3 separate regions of the Homo sapiens genome follow, and all the other regions are linked to region 1. Evidence: promoter capture Hi-C in human tissues and cell types (Jung and others, 2019). All regions are on one chromosome and are shown on one strand. Each heading gives the region's core, a stretch centred on a gene start or on the middle of the fragment in contact. The rest is flanking DNA. Distances are from core to core; before and after follow the strand shown. Region 1 holds the start of RASL10A (RAS like family 10 member A). Region 2 overlaps THOC5 (THO complex subunit 5). Region 3 overlaps LOC107985541 (a long non-coding RNA gene).

Region 1 (2,845 bases), core at 161-2,660:
CGGTGCTTACCACGGCCTCTAAGACTAATTCCAAAGCCCTTGGCCCGAGTCCCGTGGTCCACCACGCCCCCAGATTGTCAGCTGTAACCGTTTATGACCGTAGCGTAAGCACCTGCTGGTCTTTCCACCTGGTATGTTTTTGCCACTTCCTTTACTCAGAACTTCACTCGGTCTTCCAGGTTCAGCTCAAATGCCACTCCCTCCAGGAAGCCCTGCTTAATCCTGCCTGCTCTTTCCTCTTCACTGCTCTAGGGTCGGAGGTCTGTCCTTTACTTTGCACAAATTACTAAACGAGTCTTCGCTCCAGGGGACAAAAATGATAGGGCAGAGAATGAACCCCTCCACCAGCCCCCGTAGAAAGTACACCCCTGCTCCTGACCCCAGTCTCTCCCATTGTAGCTCTGCTCAAGGCCCCAAACACAAAACGCCACACTCTCGGGAAGGCACCGTTATGCACCACCAAGAGCTGCTCCACACCCCCAGCCGAGGCAGGCAAAGGTGGAGGCGCTCACAGGAGCAAGGGAACGCCCCTGGGCAAAATCGCCCGGCCTCCAGCCTGGGCTTGGGCGTCTCCAGGTCGGCGGGAAGGGCTGAAACGCAAGTATCCCAGGACGCACACACATCCCTCCATCCCGGAGCACAGCCAGGCGCCCGAGGCCTCCACGCGGACACGCACGTGTGCACCGAGCACGCACACCCCTCACACTGTCACACGCCCCTGCCCGCTCCTCGAGCCGCTACCTCCGGACCCCCGGGGCTCGAGCCGGGGCCAGCGACGTCGCCGTCGCGGATGCTCAAGTCGTAGACGGCGCCGTCGAGCAGCACCGCGGGTCGGTAGAGGCGCGGCCCGTCCGTGGGCCGGTGGCGCTCGGGGTAGTCACCGAACAGGAACTGGCGGATGATGGCCGTCTTGCCCACGCCCGGGGCGCCTAGAACGGCCACCCGCAGGCTACCCCCCATGGCCGGCCGGCGCTGTCGCTCCCCGCGCTGGAAAGCCTCATGGGCCGGCGCCGCACCGTGCGCCCCCAGGCCGTGCGCCCCGCGCGCCCTGCCCGGTGCGCCACGGCCCCGTCGCGCTTCTCGTCGCCCCTCGGAGCACCGAGACCGGAGAGGGCAGGCCCGAGGCAGGAGCTGGCGGCGGGAGGGCAGACAGACAGCCGAGTGGGCAGACAGGTGGCGGGCGCGCGAGCGGCTCGGGCGGGTGCCGAAGCTCGAGAGAGAGCAGAGCCGGAGCGGCGCTCAGACACCGCCTCCGCCCCGCAGCGCCAACCCAGGCGCCGGCGGACGCGCGAGGCGCCGAAGTCCGCCCCTCTCGCGGCGCGGGTCCCGCAGCGGTGCGGGGCGCGGGGGGCAGCGCTGCCTCCCGGAGCCTCTGTGCCTCTATCCTTCTCTCGCTTCCGCGCCTGGAGTCGCCGCCCCAGCCGCCGGCGCGAGCGAGCGGGGCCTCCCGGAGGCGGCGATGAGGTAACCGCCCGCCCCTCCCACCTTCCCCCACCGCCCAGGACGCCCCTCCCAGGAAGGGTCGCAGGAAGGTGACTGGGGGACAGAGATCCCGGAGAGGGCCTACCCCTTCCTTACCTCCTCCGCGTGTCCCGCTCCTCTCACCCGCTCCAAAATAGAAGCCCCTTCCCACCCACTGCCGCGGCCGCTCTTCCAAACACTGCTCGCCCCCACGCTGGCTCCCGACAAGCCCCGGCCCCCGGAGTCAGGCCGCCCGGGGTCCGAATTGGGGGGGGCGGCTGTGTGACCTTGGGCGAATCGCCGCACTGCGCTGGGTCTGCGCTCCGCATCCATCACAGGCAGACTCCTCAAGAGGCTCCAACCTTTTCTTGAGAGCCTACTATGTGCCAGGCCCATTACCTACGTGATTCTCGAACCTACAGCCTCAGCCTGGCATCGCTGGTTGAGAGAAGAGGAAACAGGCCCGAGAGGGGAATCTGCAAGGTTAGAAGGGCAGTGGGGGGGCCCTTGAAGTCTCCTTTGAAGTCCCTCCTACCTTCCTCCTGCCCACGGGGGTAAATGGCCCACACTAGACAATATTCAAACAGCCGTCCTCGAGGGGAAGTGGGGACAGAGGGTGCCGAGACCACAGCAGCTTAGCCCCAGATCCCTGTCCCAGCAAGGCTGGAGGTGACTAAATAAAGATCCAGAAATTGGCCCACTCCACCTCCATCACTACTAAGGTCACCTTTCCTGCGTGAGTTGCAACCCGTAGCGCCCCTCAAAGGGATGCAACCTCCAAAACAGGCGCCCAGAGCCCAAGTTCCCCCTCCCTCGAGCTAGTGGAGAAGCTCCTGCCCCATCACAGCTTGGAAAGCCTGGGTTAGCCCAGCCCCCCCATCCTCCGCCTCTGCTCTCCTCCCCGCTGTGTGGGGGCTCCCACGTCTCTGACCTGCACATGGCAATGCTCAAGAAATGGCGGCAATGCTCAAGAAATGGCCGCAATGCACAGATCTCTGCACTGACTAAGGAGTTCATTTATTTATCCCCTCAACAAATATTCCAAATCTTATTGCTTGTCAGGAGGCTGAGATAGATTTAAAAAACAGAAAACAGGAAAAAAAAAAAAAGTTCTGCTTTGGGAGAGAAGGTTCTAGAACACATGGGATCTAGGGACTGTCAAAGCACAGACAATGTGCCCACACCAGCCCAGGGGAAGTAGAGGAGCTAAATCCTGAAGGGGGAGGAGGCACATCCTCCAGGGAGCCTGTATAATGACAACCAGAAAGTGTCTCCAGAACAATGGCTGTGCTTTCATCCTCCCATGCTAGATCGGGGGCTGGGGTCCGCTTTCACTCCTCTCCTCAGCCACTAGGAAGCTCAGAACCACCTCTGTCTAGTGTTC
Region 2 (2,845 bases), core at 240-2,739, 230 kb after region 1:
GAGTGAGACCCTGTCTCAAAAAAAAAAAAAAAAAAAGACAAAAAACAAAACAATCAATCAGTATCATGATTATTAAAAATATTCCGGACCCACCGGGTGTGGTGGCTCACGCCTGTAATCCCAGCACTTTGGGAGGCTGAGGCAGGCGGATCATAAGATCAGGAGATCGAGACCATCCTGGCTAACACGGTGAAACCCTGTCTCTACTAAAAACACGAAATATTAGCCGGGCGTGGTGGCAAGCGCCTGTAGTCCCAGCTACTCGGGAGGCTGAGGCAGGAGAATGGCGTGAACCCGGGAGGCGGAGCTTGCAGTGAGCCGAGATCACGCCACTGCACTCCAGCCTGGGCGACAGAGCAAGACTCCATCTCCAAAAAAAAAAAAAAAAAAAAAAAAAAAAAAAAATATATATATATATATATATATATATATATCCTGGACCCAATGTCTAATAGGGCCCCTGCATATGTCAAGTTTGTTACAGATAAAAGCTGCTTTCAGTTTGCATAAACAGGTCTGATCAAGTGAGAACACTTCCCCTTCTCTTCCCGTTTACTCCTTCCTCCTTCTCATCTCTCAGCTTGGTTTTGAGGAAGGACACTGACAAACTGTAGTTTCTTCACCTGAAGGCAGCTAAGCAGCAAGAAATTCAGGTTCCAAAGAATAAAATCCATTTGCAGAAATGAACTGCTGGGACTACAGAAAGGAAAACTGGGCCAAAAGGTTAAAAGAATGTGACTGGAAGTGAGTTGCTCCCATACAACATGCCCAGAAATCAAACTGGTAATGTAAAGACCCCTGATAGGGAGAGAGACCTGCTTTTTACCAAGTGCAGAGCTCAAAACTCAAAAAGGTCAGAGAGACTTCTGAGGTTCTTTATGCAGCCTGAAATCACGGCTTGCAATTCTCCCACATTCACCCTTGCAATTTGCCCTTCTCCCAGATCCTACAGTTTTCTAAGCTCATCAGATTTCTTTTTAAAGAGAGACTTAGGCTGGGAGCGGTGGCTCACGCCTGTAATCCCAGCACTTTGGGAGGCCGAGGCGGGAGGACCACCTGAGGTCAGGAGTTCGAGAACAGCCTGGCCAACATGGCAAAACCCCGTCTCTACTAAAAATACAAAAATTAGCTGGATGTGGAGGTGGGCGCCTGCAATCCCAGCTACTCAGAAGGCTGAGGCAGGAGAATTGCTTGAACCCGGGAGGTGGAGGTTGCAGTGAGCTGAGATTGCGCCACTGCACTCCAGCCTGGGTGACAGGGCAAGACTCCGTCTCAAAAAAAAAAAAGAAACAGACTTACAGTGAGCTACATGGGAAAAAGCAGTTACCGAAAGACCACATGTGCCAAAGCCCTGTCCTCCCAAACTCACTTAAACTCCAAACATTTGGTGATCTCCTTCTGTAGGTGCATCACCTCATACAACAGGTTCTGGAGCTGCAGATGATAGGCATCTACTTTCTGCTTAGCCTGAAAGGAAAATACGATCAGAAGTGAGCAGGGCAAGTCAGGATGGAGCAGAGGAGAGGGTCAGCAAACTAAGAGAAGGTGTAAAGGGAATAAAGAAGGGGATGGGGCTGGGTGCAGTGGCTCACGCCTGTAATCCCAGCACTTTGGGAGGCCGAGGCGAGTGGATCACCTGAGCTCAGGAGTTCAAGACAAGCCTGGCCAACAAGGTGAAACCCCATCTCTACTAAAAAATACAAAAATTAGCCAGGCATGGTGGTGGGAGGTGCCTGTAATCCCAGCTACTTAGGAGGCTGAGGCAGGAGAATCGCTTGAAGCTGGGAGGCAGAGGATGTGGTGAGCTGAGATCGTGCCACTGCACTCTAGCCTGGGGGACAGAACGAGACTCTGTCTCAAAAAAAAAAAAAAAAAAAAAAAAAGAAGGGGATGGGGAGGAGGAAGGAGGAAGGTTAAAATTAAACCTTTTAACTACTACCTCGTGGGTCTGATCTCTTCCTTTCTTCAACCTGATGTGGGCTAATCGGTTAAGCTTCTTTAGAGTCATGAAATGCACACAGCTCTGGATCCTCCGTTCTTCTATTTCTATTGCCTGTGGGCAAAGAAAACAGTAAAGCCCACTGACGACAGGGCTAGCTCAGCTTCCTTCAGTCCTTCACCACTGACCCATCCTCATCTGGGGCCAAAAACGGCACCGGAGGGAGCTCAGAACCATGAGAAGGGTCATGAAGAAAATAAGAGGATGATTGTATAAGGAAAATGATTAAGAATCTCGGGCAAAAAAAAGTAATTTCTGCTTGGACTAGAGTAACAGGAATTGAAGATGGAATAAGGGCAGCAAAGGCACAATCTATCTCTACAGATCCTACACAGAGATCCCAGCAATAGTAACATCTTGTCATAAAATTTGACCTCTATAAATAACATTACAGGATAACTTAAATGGAAAATAACAGAATTATAGCCATAAAGCTTGGCTAGAATAGATTGAATGCAATAATTCTAACAAAACTTGTCAGCATAAGCACAAATACGTGAGATTCCTGGGGGAAAAAATGGATTTTAAAAAACTTATCTATCGAGTTTTTAGTCACATTGTTTAATTTCTCTGCCCCTAAAACCTCATTTATTCATTTACTATTAATGATAATTTCATTTTTGGTATCTACAATTTACTTGTACACATCCATCTTTGTATCAAGCAAATGTATAAGTACCATCATTTCTCAACACCTAGCAAAATGCCTGGCACTTAATAAATATTAATTGGATGAATGATCAAATTAGTAGGGAAAAAATTAATTATCCTGTACTTTCATTCCTGTAATTGGTGACTGAATGGTGATAAGAAGTTCCAATAAATTCACAGGTTTTGGGAGCCCTC
Region 3 (2,845 bases), core at 205-2,704, 150 kb after region 1:
TCAAGTGATCCTCCCACCTCAGCCACCCAAAGTGTTAGGATTACAGGTGTGAGTCACCGTGCCCAGCCCATTTTCTTTTTAGAGACGGGGCCTCGCTCTGTTGCCCAGGATAGAGCGCAGTGGCATGATTATAGCTCACTGCAGCCTCAAACTCCTGGGCTCAAGTGAGTATCCCACCTCAGCTCTCCAAGTAGCTGGGACTTCAAGCATGAGCCACTGCACCTGGCTAATTTGAACTTTTTAATTTTTTTTTATTGTAGAGACAGGGTCTTGTTTTGTTGCCCAGGCTGGACTCAAACTCCTGGCTTCAAGCAATCCTCCTTCCTCCTCAGCCTCCCAAAGTTCTGGGATTACAGACATGAGCCAACATGCCTGGTCTAGTCTTACCTTTTACTAATGCGGAAACTGAAGCCCAGAGATGCAGAGATGTGCCTAAATTACAGTTAATTAGGAACAAATGTAATCCTCAAATCCAGATCTCCAACATTCATGTCAAAACTCCCTAAAATCAAACAACATCGGCTGGGGAAAGAACATTCAAAGTCTCCCAGTCCAAGCCTCTCATTTCACAGTAGGAGAAAGCTTGACTCAGAGAAGAGTGGAATATGCCTAAGAGTGACATGCAGGCAGGCAGAATGCACCATCAATGAATCGAAAAGTTAGTTTTTTACTATATGTGCCCTAAGGCATATAAAGTGACTTCTCCGAGCTTCACCTTTGAAATGGAAATAAAATTTACAGTATAGGGTTCACTGTCAGGAGGATAAATGATTCATGAAATGCCCTTGGGCCAGCACCCAGCACTTAGTGGGTGCTCAATGCATGGTATCTATTATTAATACTGCTAGAACCTTGTCATTTCCCCCTCTGCCATTCTGCCTTCCAGGTCAAACCTTTCTCAGTACAGTATAGTAGGTAAGACTGGGGACTACTGCTTCAGCTACTTGTCAGCAGGGTGACTTTGGACTGGTTACTACCCAGCAACTCTGGGCCTCAAATGTCTCATCAGTAAACTGGGGACAGAATAGCAGTACCCACCAGACAAGGCTGTGGGAGGGGGAAATAATGCATGTGACTGGCCTTCACACAAAGCCAAGCACATAGTCAGTGCTCAATAAATGCGGGCTACTACTGTTACCAATTACTTCCACAGCCATGTCTCATGTCTGTCACCATCCCAGACTGCAGGGAGTCTGGTCCACCAGCAAGTGGCCGGTCCCCAACCTCCAGGGCTCTCCAGTCTCAAGAGTGCTGACGCAGCAAGGGAAGGAGCTCCCAGTACATCCACACCGGCTCTCCTGACTCAGCTCTGATTTCTCAGGTGCCTGTGTAGGGTCGACAATTCTGAGCATGCTGGACGAAATCCCGATTTTTGCATTCATGTAAGAGTCTTGGAAGAGCCCCCTTTTCACACGTGCAGAAACTGAGGTCTGGGGAGGAGGAAGAGGCTGCTGCCCACGGACACACAGGTGCCAGGACCAATGTCTGGGGAGGAGGAGAAGGGCGCTGTTCACGGAAACACAGGCGCCAGGGCTTGATGCACCGGTGTCCTCGCTTGTGGCTGGGTCCTTCTGGGACGATCCCCTTTCCCAGGATCCCGCCCCTAGGAAGAGCACCGGCCATGCCCCTACCTGAGCCCCACCCCCTGAGTTCTTTGAGCACCGCTGCCCCCAGGCCGTTACGATGAGGGAAGCCACGACAGCCAAGGCTACGGCTACCTTCCTGCAGCCCCTGGGGATGCCACTGATGCGACGCCGCGGCGGCCAAGGCGGGGCTGAAGGCGGCGCGCCCGGCTTCCCTGAGCCAGTTTGGAGGAGCGCTCTTCAATCTTCCGAGGCCGGATGAAGCATTCGGGCGTTCCCACTGCGGAAGGGCGGGGATGGCTGTGACGCAGGCGTGCCCGCCGTCGCCTGCAGGGGGCGCTGTTGCTGGCGCGATTCTATCAAGCGCAGAGCCAGCCGAGGCAGTATGCCGAGGCAGAGAAACCGGTTCTGCAGTCCCAGGGCCTCGGTTTCCCCCTCTGGAGAGTGTTCGTTTGTGACAGGGTCTCGCTCTGTTGCCGAGGCTGGAGTGCCGTGGCGTGATCTCGGCTCACTGCAACCTCCGCCTCTCCAGGTTTAAGCGATCCTCCCACCTCAGCCTCCCGAGGAGCTGGGACCACAGGCGCGCCACCACACCCAGCTATTTTTATTTTATTTTATTTTTTGTAGAAATGAGGTTTTTCTGTGTTGCCTGGGCTGGTCTCGAGCTCTTGGGCTCAAGCGATCCTCTCGCTTGGCCGCCCAAAGTGCTGGGATTAGAGGTGTGAGCCACTGCACCGCCGAAAGTGGGTTTGATGACAATGTTGTGAGGCTACAGTGGAACCCAGATAAATTTATGAAAGGAACCAGAAGACACTGATAAATAACCAAATTACTTAACCTCCCTACACCTGTTTGTTGATCTGTAAATGGGGATAATTGCACCTCCCTTCCCTGTGGATATGCAAACGTGGAAAAACACATAAAGGGGCTGGCACCTTATAAGCACCTAGTAAAAGGCAATGACTGTGATCACAGGCAAAGCACCCTGCCAAGCCAGAAAACAACATCCAAGTCCTGGTTCCTGTCCTCACGGAGCTCCAGTCGCAGAACCAGAGGCGAGGCAGTGAGAACCAGGCCTGCCCTCGGTTTCCTCATCTGTACCACTGATGGTCTCTAAGGCTCTCTGAGCCCAGCTTTCTTCAATGCTGGCTTGTGAAATGCAGCCCAAGATGGATTACAGTGACATGAATAACATGGAGTAGCATCTATGGGAAGTCACCGCTGAATCGCATTTATTCATTCAACAAGCTTTACTAATACTC

What was found. The method cuts DNA at HindIII sites, captures the fragments that hold promoters and counts their contacts. A contact is called where the count stands out against the background at its distance.
Region 2: a fragment that was not itself captured here is called in contact with the fragment with the promoter of RASL10A in region 1 in 2 of the 25 tissues and cell types used here (H1 embryonic stem cells and stomach).
Region 3: a contact is called between a fragment that was not itself captured here and the fragment with the promoter of RASL10A in region 1, in 4 of the 25 tissues and cell types used here (dorsolateral prefrontal cortex, lymphoblastoid cells, spleen and 1 more).

What each region holds. Positions count from the first base shown.
Region 1 is chr22:29,314,287-29,317,131 of GRCh38, forward strand. It overlaps RASL10A (RAS like family 10 member A), which reads right to left and starts at 1,411. Exons shown (of 3, transcript NM_006477.5): 1 at 742-1,411. The coding sequence starts at 960. RefSeq lists enhancers at 1-602, 603-1,407. The HindIII fragment of the contact is 15,140 bases long and covers 1-2,845 here.
Region 2 is chr22:29,541,490-29,544,334 of GRCh38, forward strand. It overlaps THOC5 (THO complex subunit 5), which reads right to left. Exons shown (of 20, transcript NM_003678.5): 4 at 1,940-2,053; 5 at 1,370-1,467. Among named protein-coding and RNA genes, the nearest start is that of THOC5, 11 kb to the right of the region's middle. The HindIII fragment of the contact is 4,062 bases long and covers 1-2,845 here.
Region 3 is chr22:29,468,676-29,471,520 of GRCh38, forward strand. LOC107985541 (a long non-coding RNA gene) reads right to left here. Exons shown (of 4, transcript XR_001755482.2): 2 at 1-2,845. Among named protein-coding and RNA genes, the nearest start is that of NEFH, 10 kb to the right of the region's middle. RefSeq lists an enhancer at 1,469-1,969. The HindIII fragment of the contact is 5,351 bases long and covers 1-2,845 here.